Linked DNA regions of Homo sapiens: region 1 is linked to region 2. Evidence: promoter capture Hi-C in 16 types of primary human blood cells and fetal thymus (Javierre and others, 2016). All regions are on one chromosome and are shown on one strand. The core of a region is centred on a gene start or on the middle of the fragment in contact, and the rest is flanking DNA. Distances in the headings are between cores, read along the strand shown.

Region 1 (4,014 bases), core at 240-2,739, 300 kb after region 2:
CCAGCTAGCCTTTAGAGGCTGCTGGCCTGCTGGGGACACAGAGGGTTAGAGTGCTTAGGGGATAACTATCACCTGAGGCGCATCACCCCCAACTAGCCCAGGCGGAAAGAGTTTCTGTACAAGCTCACCACATCCCACAGGCCCCCAGTCCCTTATATATGTCAAGGGCCTCTCACTGGCAGGAAATTCTTTAGATCTGACCTGCGTCATATTTGCTATAACCAAAGGCTGTTTCTTTGAGAGGTTAATCCCCAAAATTAGACACGGGAGCAGCTTCCAGCTGTGACTGTGAGGCCCTTCTGAGGCATTTGATGAGGTTGATCATAAACTTTTACTTAAAACTCAGAATTCTCATACTGAAGGCTTTGGAGATAGGCAATTCTGGATCAAAATACTGGCTCTTTCCGGCTGGGTGGCCTGAGAAAAATTACTTAACCTGTCTGAGCTTTCGTGCCTGGTACACAAACACTTAAATGCTAACAACTAGCATATTTTATTATAATCATTATTTATATAAGTGCTTAGCACAGAGTAAGCACTATACAACTGTATGTGGGGAAAAAAAATATTAGGGTAGGAGGTTTGGAATGAGTCGTGTTTTATGTTTTGAAAGATCCCCAGGGGAGAATTCCAAAACCTACCTTAGACAACCCTTGCTTCAAGTCCCCATCTTAATGGAAGTGCTCTCTGCCATCTAACCTGGCTCCCTCCTGCTGCTGCAGCTGAGGCCTAAGTCTACCAGGACTACCTGGTTCTCCCATCTCAGTCCTGCCTTCTACCCTCGTTTTTGGGCTTGCGTCTATTCCAGCCCCCTCCCATCCAGCCCCCAAGGCAAAAGGTTCACTTACTGCCCAGGTCCAGGGTCTTGCTCACAGCGCCCATCCCAGGGGCAGGCAGAGGAGCCAGTGTCTGCTGTGCGCCACCCACCCCTCTCCTCTTCCAGGGCTAGCAGGGCTACCCCGGGCTGGGGGCTGTGTTGCCGCAGCTGGCCAGGAGCCCCACCTCGCAACGGGTGGGCTTCAGGGAGAAAAGGGAGGGCCACATCAAAGCCGGGCCGGAAGGAGTCCACCGTGGGGCTGGCCTCAGCCACCATAGCCTGTCCCAGCTGGAAGGTCCTGGGGCAGGGAGCCGGGTGGAGACGGAGGACCAGATGGTTCCTGCCCCTGTTCCATTGCAGAGGCATTGAGCTGCACTCTCCAGTCTGGGCGTCCAGGCTGAGGAGGAGGAGGAGGCAGGCCCCAGCAGGGCTGAATGTGTAGAAGCGAGAGCCCTCAATGGAAGCCAGGATCCTGCGATGAGTCTCAGAGATGGTTCCAACCGCTGGGTACACGAATACCTTAAGGCCATCGCCCCTGCACTTTGAGGTATCAAAGCAAGATTCCCAGTTGCAGCTGCCACCATGAGGGGCTTGAGGAGGTGAAACGGCATCTTCTGGGAGCTCTCCAGGCTGGGAGAAGCTCTGCAGGAGCTCTGCATCCAGCCAGCGGGGCCAGCCTTGGGAAGCCCCGGGCCGAGGTCTGGGAGGCAATGCCAGGCGGAGAAGGGAGAAGCCTCCCAGCAGGACAAGCAGGAGCCAGGAGGCTGACAGTGCCAGCCACAGGGACTTTCTTCTCCTCCACGACTGCATGTGGCCACCCACAGTCAGGGCTAGGGAAGCTGGGAGGCCTCTGCCAGCAAGCAGGAAGAGCAGGGCCTGGGGCGGGAGACCAGAGCTGGGACCGACCTGCTAGTCCTGTGCTGTCATTGTACAGATGGGAAGACTGAGGCCCATCGAGACCAGGCCGCCTGTCTAAGGTCAGATAGTGAGTCACCAGCCAGGCAGGAGGAGGCCAGGTGGGACCCAGCTTGCTGGCCTGGCCCCCCTGCTCTCAGGACTCTGCCTTCTCGGCCTTTGGACAACCAAGCCAGCCTTTTCCCTCCCAGCAGGGACCCCTGCCCCTGGGCACTGCTCTGGCTGACGCAACCCCTGTCCAGAATGCAGGGCCGTGTCCCCCTGCCCTCCTGGCTGCACCCCTTGACCTTGCCCTCAACTGAGAGGAGGGCTGTCTGCCAGGCCATGGGGACCAGTCAGAGCTCCCACAGGAGGCGGCTTGGCCAGGGACAGGCTGGAGGGAGCTGGGCTGGTCTTCCCACTCCTCCCCTTGCCTGAGCAGCCCTGGCTGCCCCTGTGCCCGCTGGCAGACGCTTCTGGGCTGTGGCCCCTGTGGCTGGAGCTAAAATTAGACCCTGCATCCCATGTGGATCATCGGCGTCAGCTGAGGTCACAGCCTGGGTGCAGCCGGTGTCCCCCTGCCTTGGAGGGCCAGGAGGGCTCGGGGTCCTGATCCTTATCCACTCTGCCGCTGCACCAGCTCAGGAAGTGCAGCCCCTCTTCCCCGCAGCCCAGCAGCTGCCTTGCACCATCTGGCTTGGAGCTATCACAGTGCAGAGGCCAGGGCCGCTGTGCCAAGCCCCCCAAACCCTATGGTATCTCCTCCCATCCCTCTCCAGTCGGCAACTGGCCCATCCTGATCTCTTTCCTTAGCAGCAGCCTGGCTCCTCCCCTCCCAGCCCTGATTCGCTCCTGGCTGGGAGGCAGGGTCTCCATTTAACCCCTTCCAAACCAGTTTCCTCAATTGCTAATCCAACCAGCAAGTACTGCAACTCACAGCTGGCCATGAGTTATCACAGCCTCTGTCTCTCAGTCCTCCAGCCACCCTCCAAGGCAGAGATTTACCTGTCATTTCTTACAGATGAGGAAAGCTCAGAGAGGGGATGAACTCTTCCTAAGGTGACCCAGCTAAGAAGTGGCAGGGTGGGGATTTCAATCCTGAGCTCCTGGTCGTTGGTCACCCCAGCTGTGGGCCCTGTGGCTGGAGAAAAACTAGACCCTGCACCTGCTGTGGGCCATCAGAGTCAGTGGAGGTCAGAGCCTGAGTGTGAGGAATCTCTGAATCGGCACATGAGAAGGTCAACAGGTGAGACAAGTGAGGAGTTAAGGGGCGGGGGTGGAGGAATTGGGTAAGGTGCCCCCAACTGTCCCCAGGATTGGTCTCTCCTCCTTCAGCAGCCCCACCCCCAATCTCCTCCAATTCCCAGCCTTTTGCTCCAGTCCTTATGGAAAGTTCTTCCTGCACTTGACTCTTCCATAGTCCAGGCCCCATGGAGGGATTTCCCCGGTCAGTGCCCTGTGAGGGGAGTCAGGAGTGGGTGATGTCAGCCACTGAGGAATCTCTGGGGTGACGGGGGAGACACACTCTGGCCATGAGGAGTTCTGGGCTGATGAGGGAAGGCACAGGGAGTGGACAGACTTGAGTGGGTTCTGCCTCTTCCCCTGACTGCCTCGGGGGTGTTGGGCCTCTGTCCCCTTATCTCTGGGATGGGCATAATGTCAGCCAGGAATGGGTTGCCAGGTTGACGCAGGCCTGTCCCCTGAGGTCCCTCAACAAGTGGTGGCCTCCTTTCCCCTGCGTGCCTCCCCTTGATCTTGGAGGGCTGCTGATCAGACCAGGGAGCCACCGTGGGATGTTTTGCCCTCAGTGAGCAGCCAGTGTGAGAGTCCTAAAAATGGCCCACAAAGGGGACACTTGCCTCTTGGCACTAATGGCTCAGCCACTCGGTGATGAACTGCAGTTCCTGCATAACTCAGTCCTCCCACACTGAGAGGCATCCACAAAGGCCACTGGCTGCTTCGCACGCCCCCCCTTTCACTGTGCCCAGCCAACTCCTCATCCTGCAGGAGTCAGCTGAAAGCTCCCTCCCCACAAGAAGCTTCTCCAATGCTCCGCAGGCTGGGTTAGAGCCCCCGTCTAGGTCCTCATGTCATTCCTTCATCCCTCTATCCCCATACACAGTCATCCATTCATCTAACAAACACTTATGAGTGTTGAATATGGGCCAGGTTCTGAGCTAGGCCAGGAACACAACCCTGAGTAAGAGTAATCATAGCTGACACTCGTATTGCACTTACAGCGTGCCAAGCATCCCTCTTTTGTATCAGCTTGTTTCATCCTTTCCCCAACCCTAGGAGGGAGA
Region 2 (3,655 bases), core at 751-3,250:
AGTAGAGACGGGGTTTCACCATGTTGGTCAGGCTGGTCTCGAACTCCTGACCTGGTGATCCACCCGCCTCGGCCTCCCAAAGTACTGGGATTACAGGTGTGAGCCATCGTACCCAGCCCTCAGGGGACTTTTGAATAGCGTGTTTGTTATTTAAAGATGCAGTCCCCTTTCTACCCTCCCCGCCCTCCATCCGCCCACCTCCATAAAACAGTCCTCAGTTCTGCCCCATGTGACCACTACTTCTTCCACAAGGTCCTGTCAGGATGTTTGACTGCTTCCTGCTTTGACACAGGCAGGGACAGAGGTGATCACTGCCCCTGTCCACCCCCTTTCACAGAAACTTTCTGTTTTTTTGAGATAGAGTTTCGCTCTTTTGCCCAGGCTGGAGTGAAGTGGCATGATCTCGGGTCACTGCAACCTCCACCCCTCAACCTCCCGAGTAGCTGGGATTATAGGCAGCCGCTATCACGCCCAGCTAATTTTTTTTTTTTTTCCGAGACAGAGTCTTGCTCTGTCGCCCGCCCAGGCTGGAGTGCAGTGGCGTGATCTCGGCTCACTGCAAGCTTCACCCCCAGGTTCACGCCATTCTCCTGCCTCAGCCTCCCGAGTAGCTGGGACTACAGGCGCCCGCCACCACGCCACGCCCGGCTAATTTCTTTTTGTATTTATGGTAGAGACGAGGTTTCAATGTGTTAGCCAGGATGGTCTCGATCTCCTGACCTCATGATCCACCCGCCTCAGCCTCCCAAAGTGCTGGGATTACAGACGCGAGCCAGCGCGCCCGGCTCGCCCAGCTAATTTTTGTATTTTTAGTAGAGACGGGATTTTGTCATGTTGGCCAGGCTGGTCTTGAACTCCTGACCTCAGGTGATCCGCCTGCCTCGGCCTCCCAAAGTGCTGGGATTATAGGCGTGAGCCACCGTGCCCGGTCACAGAACCTTTCTTTTCACCTTTCCCCAGCGACCAGCCCTTCTGGCATAGAGGGAGACAGGGGAGCCCTGGCCCTTGACCTTCCTAGCCTGGCAAAGGGCTTAGCTTCCCTGAGCCTCAGTTTCATCTTCTGAGTGGGGAGAAGTTCATCACAGTTGTGAAGGTCACATGAGCCAGGGCTGAGTGAGAAAGCACTTGGCAAAGCGTGGGTGGCTGGATGTGGGGTGGGGAAGTGGCCAGATGGTGATCGAGCTGTCCTTAATGCTTGATGGAGCTGCAACTAGAACTGTTCTTGATGGAGATTAAGCTGGTTTTGATGGTGATCAAGCTGTTCTTGATCAAGAACTTGATGGCTCCGGTCTGCTGTACTGACTCCCCTCTGGGCACCTGGGATGCTACCAAAGCTGCCTCCTGGAATAGCAGTCGCTTTTGAGACTCCAGTTGTTTCTGAAATGGGAGAGTCCTGTCTTCTTTGCATTCCTGAACATCCAGGCTTCTCTCTGGCAGGGGAGTGGGGGTTAGAGTGTCCCCTGTCACCTCCATAACCACAGCAGGCTCCACTTGGACATCTCCTGGCCTCTCCCCAAAGGACCATCTCCCCAGACTCCCTGTGGGCCGATGCCTTCCTCACTCAGGGTTGTCTTCCCAAGTCTCTTAGTTCTCTATTATTCCACAACACCCCTTGGGTGCCCCAACGCGCCTAGCACCCTGTAAGTGCTCCCCAGCTGTGGATACAGGTTTCTCTCAGGGCAGCCCGCAAGCAGTGCAGCCCCAGCCAGAAGAGCTGGAAGGCTGGGCGGCCAGGCCCGCTGTGTCCCCAGTTTTCCTGTTGGAGTCCATCTGCTGTGCTCTCAGGAGAGAAGGCTGGGTCTCTGGGAGCTCACATCCTGTATGCCCTCCCTCCATGCCAAGCAACTTTGGGGAGTCCTGGCAGTGGTGCCAGGCGTTGCTCTTACCTGTACCATAACCAGGAGGCTGATGGTGAGTAGGAGGAAGAGGAAGCGCTTCATTTTGGTAGGATCTTCGTGGCTGTCTTGGTAGCAGCTTTTTAGGTGATCTCAGGGCTGTCTGGAGGCTTCTTTTGGTTTAGCTGCTTTTGAACCAGGAGGCAGAGGAGGCGGGGTGAGGTAGGGAGAGGAAGGAGGGCTTACAAGGTGGAGGAGGGGTGTGGCTTCCTTTCTGCAGATCTGGGGGTGGATAATACCAGGCTCTAGGTTCTAAGGCCCTGGCTGGGGGAGCAGGCTAGATCGTACAAGATAGGAGAGAGGTCAATCCAGAGGCAACGGTGGGAGTAAGTAGGGCCCAAGGCCTGGAATCATGCATCCTGCAGGCTGAATCCTGGTTTAATCACTGACCAGCTCTGAGACCCTGGGCCAGAAACTCTACCTCTCTGACCCTTTAACAAAAGAACTGCCGGATTACATGTAATAATAACCAATTTAAAAAGAGCCAGAACATAGCAGATATTCCGTAAATGAGTTTGTTGTTTAAAGAAGATTGGGGCAGGGTATAGGAGCTGAAGGAGAAGGGCTGGGATAGATTTATGTTTCAAGGGAAGGTTGTAGATGGGCTGCAGGTTCTGAATGAAAGCTTGGGAAATGTTTAGATTGTGGAAGGGTTGGTGGATTTCTGTGAAGGTGCTGGAGGTGAGGAATCGGGAAGCCTGGTTTCAGTTGGGCTTTCCCTCTCTAGGCCTCAGTTCCTCATTTCAAGGAACTGGGAAGACTGAAATAGATTATTTCTGAAGTTTGTTAAAACCTAGTGTTTTGTTTTGTTGTTGTTGGTTTTTTTGTTTTTTTTTTTAAACAGAGTTTTGCTCTGTGCACTGGCATGATCTCGGCTTACTGCAACCTCCACCTCCTGGGTTCAAGCAATTATCCTGCCTTGGCCTCCCGCATAGCTGGGACTACAGGTGTGTGCCACCATGCCTGGCTAATTTTTTGTATTTTTTTTTTTTTTTTAGCGGAGACTGGGTTTCACCATGTTGGCTAGGCTAGTCTCGAATGCCTGATCTCAAGTGATCCGCCTGCCTCGGCCTCCCAAAGTGCTGGGATTACAGGCATGAGCCACCGCGCCCAGCCAAGACCTAGAATTTTGTGATTTTGGTAGAGAAAGTAGCAAGCAGATGGGTTGTTTGTATTAGCTGAGGATGAATGGGAGGGGAGCGAGGGAAGGGACAAGTGGGTGACTAAGCTACAGTGGAAGGGGACTGGGGTGAGAGAGTGGCTGTGAGGGCCCAGGGAGGGGTGGGGGGATGAGAGGAATCCCACAGCTGCCTGGATAGTGCTCCATGCTTTATGCATTCCCTCACTTGATACCCTCTGTGGTGCCCTGCAGCAGGTGTTATGTTTATCCCCATTTGACTGGTGAAAAAACTGAGGCTTAGATGTTAAGTGACTTGCTAAGGTCGTAAATGGTGGAGCCAGTCTCATTTGACCTTGAATCCAGGTCTGTCTGAAGCCACAGCCATGTATGTAACCTCTGGGGCTGCCCTAGAATTCATCCATTAAGTCTTGATTCCCTGCCACTCCCTCCCCCTCCCCTACACAAACTCCCCCCAGGCCCCAGGAGTTGGTCACCACAACCCCAGCTCTGGCCCACTCTCCCTTCACACTCTCCCTTCCTTAGTCTACTTTAGGCCTCATTTACATGCTAGGTAGTAAAGGGAAAACTCCCCTCACTTCTCTTCTATTGTTTTGGGCCTTGTGTTGCAAGCCCAGGGGAG

The links. Contacts are between HindIII fragments. The CHiCAGO score rates a contact against its expected background, and 5 or more counts as called.
Region 1: a contact is called between a fragment that was not itself captured here and the fragment with the promoter of CD52 in region 2, in 1 of 17 cell types (endothelial precursors). The highest score is 6.4, in endothelial precursors.

Annotation. Positions count from the first base shown.
Region 1 is chr1:26,020,260-26,024,273 of GRCh38, reverse strand. It overlaps EXTL1 (exostosin like glycosyltransferase 1), which reads right to left and starts at 2,499. Exons shown (of 11, transcript NM_004455.3): 1 at 849-2,499. The coding sequence starts at 1,627. The HindIII fragment of the contact is 4,527 bases long and covers 1-3,752 here.
Region 2 is chr1:26,316,303-26,319,957 of GRCh38, reverse strand. CD52 (CD52 molecule) reads right to left here and starts at 2,000. Exons shown (of 2, transcript NM_001803.3): 1 at 1,887-2,000. The coding sequence starts at 1,940. It also overlaps a transcript of UBXN11 not described here. RefSeq lists enhancers at 994-1,093, 235-1,220, 1,594-1,743, 1,874-1,943 and a silencer at 2,018-2,210. The HindIII fragment of the contact is 1,957 bases long and covers 566-2,522 here.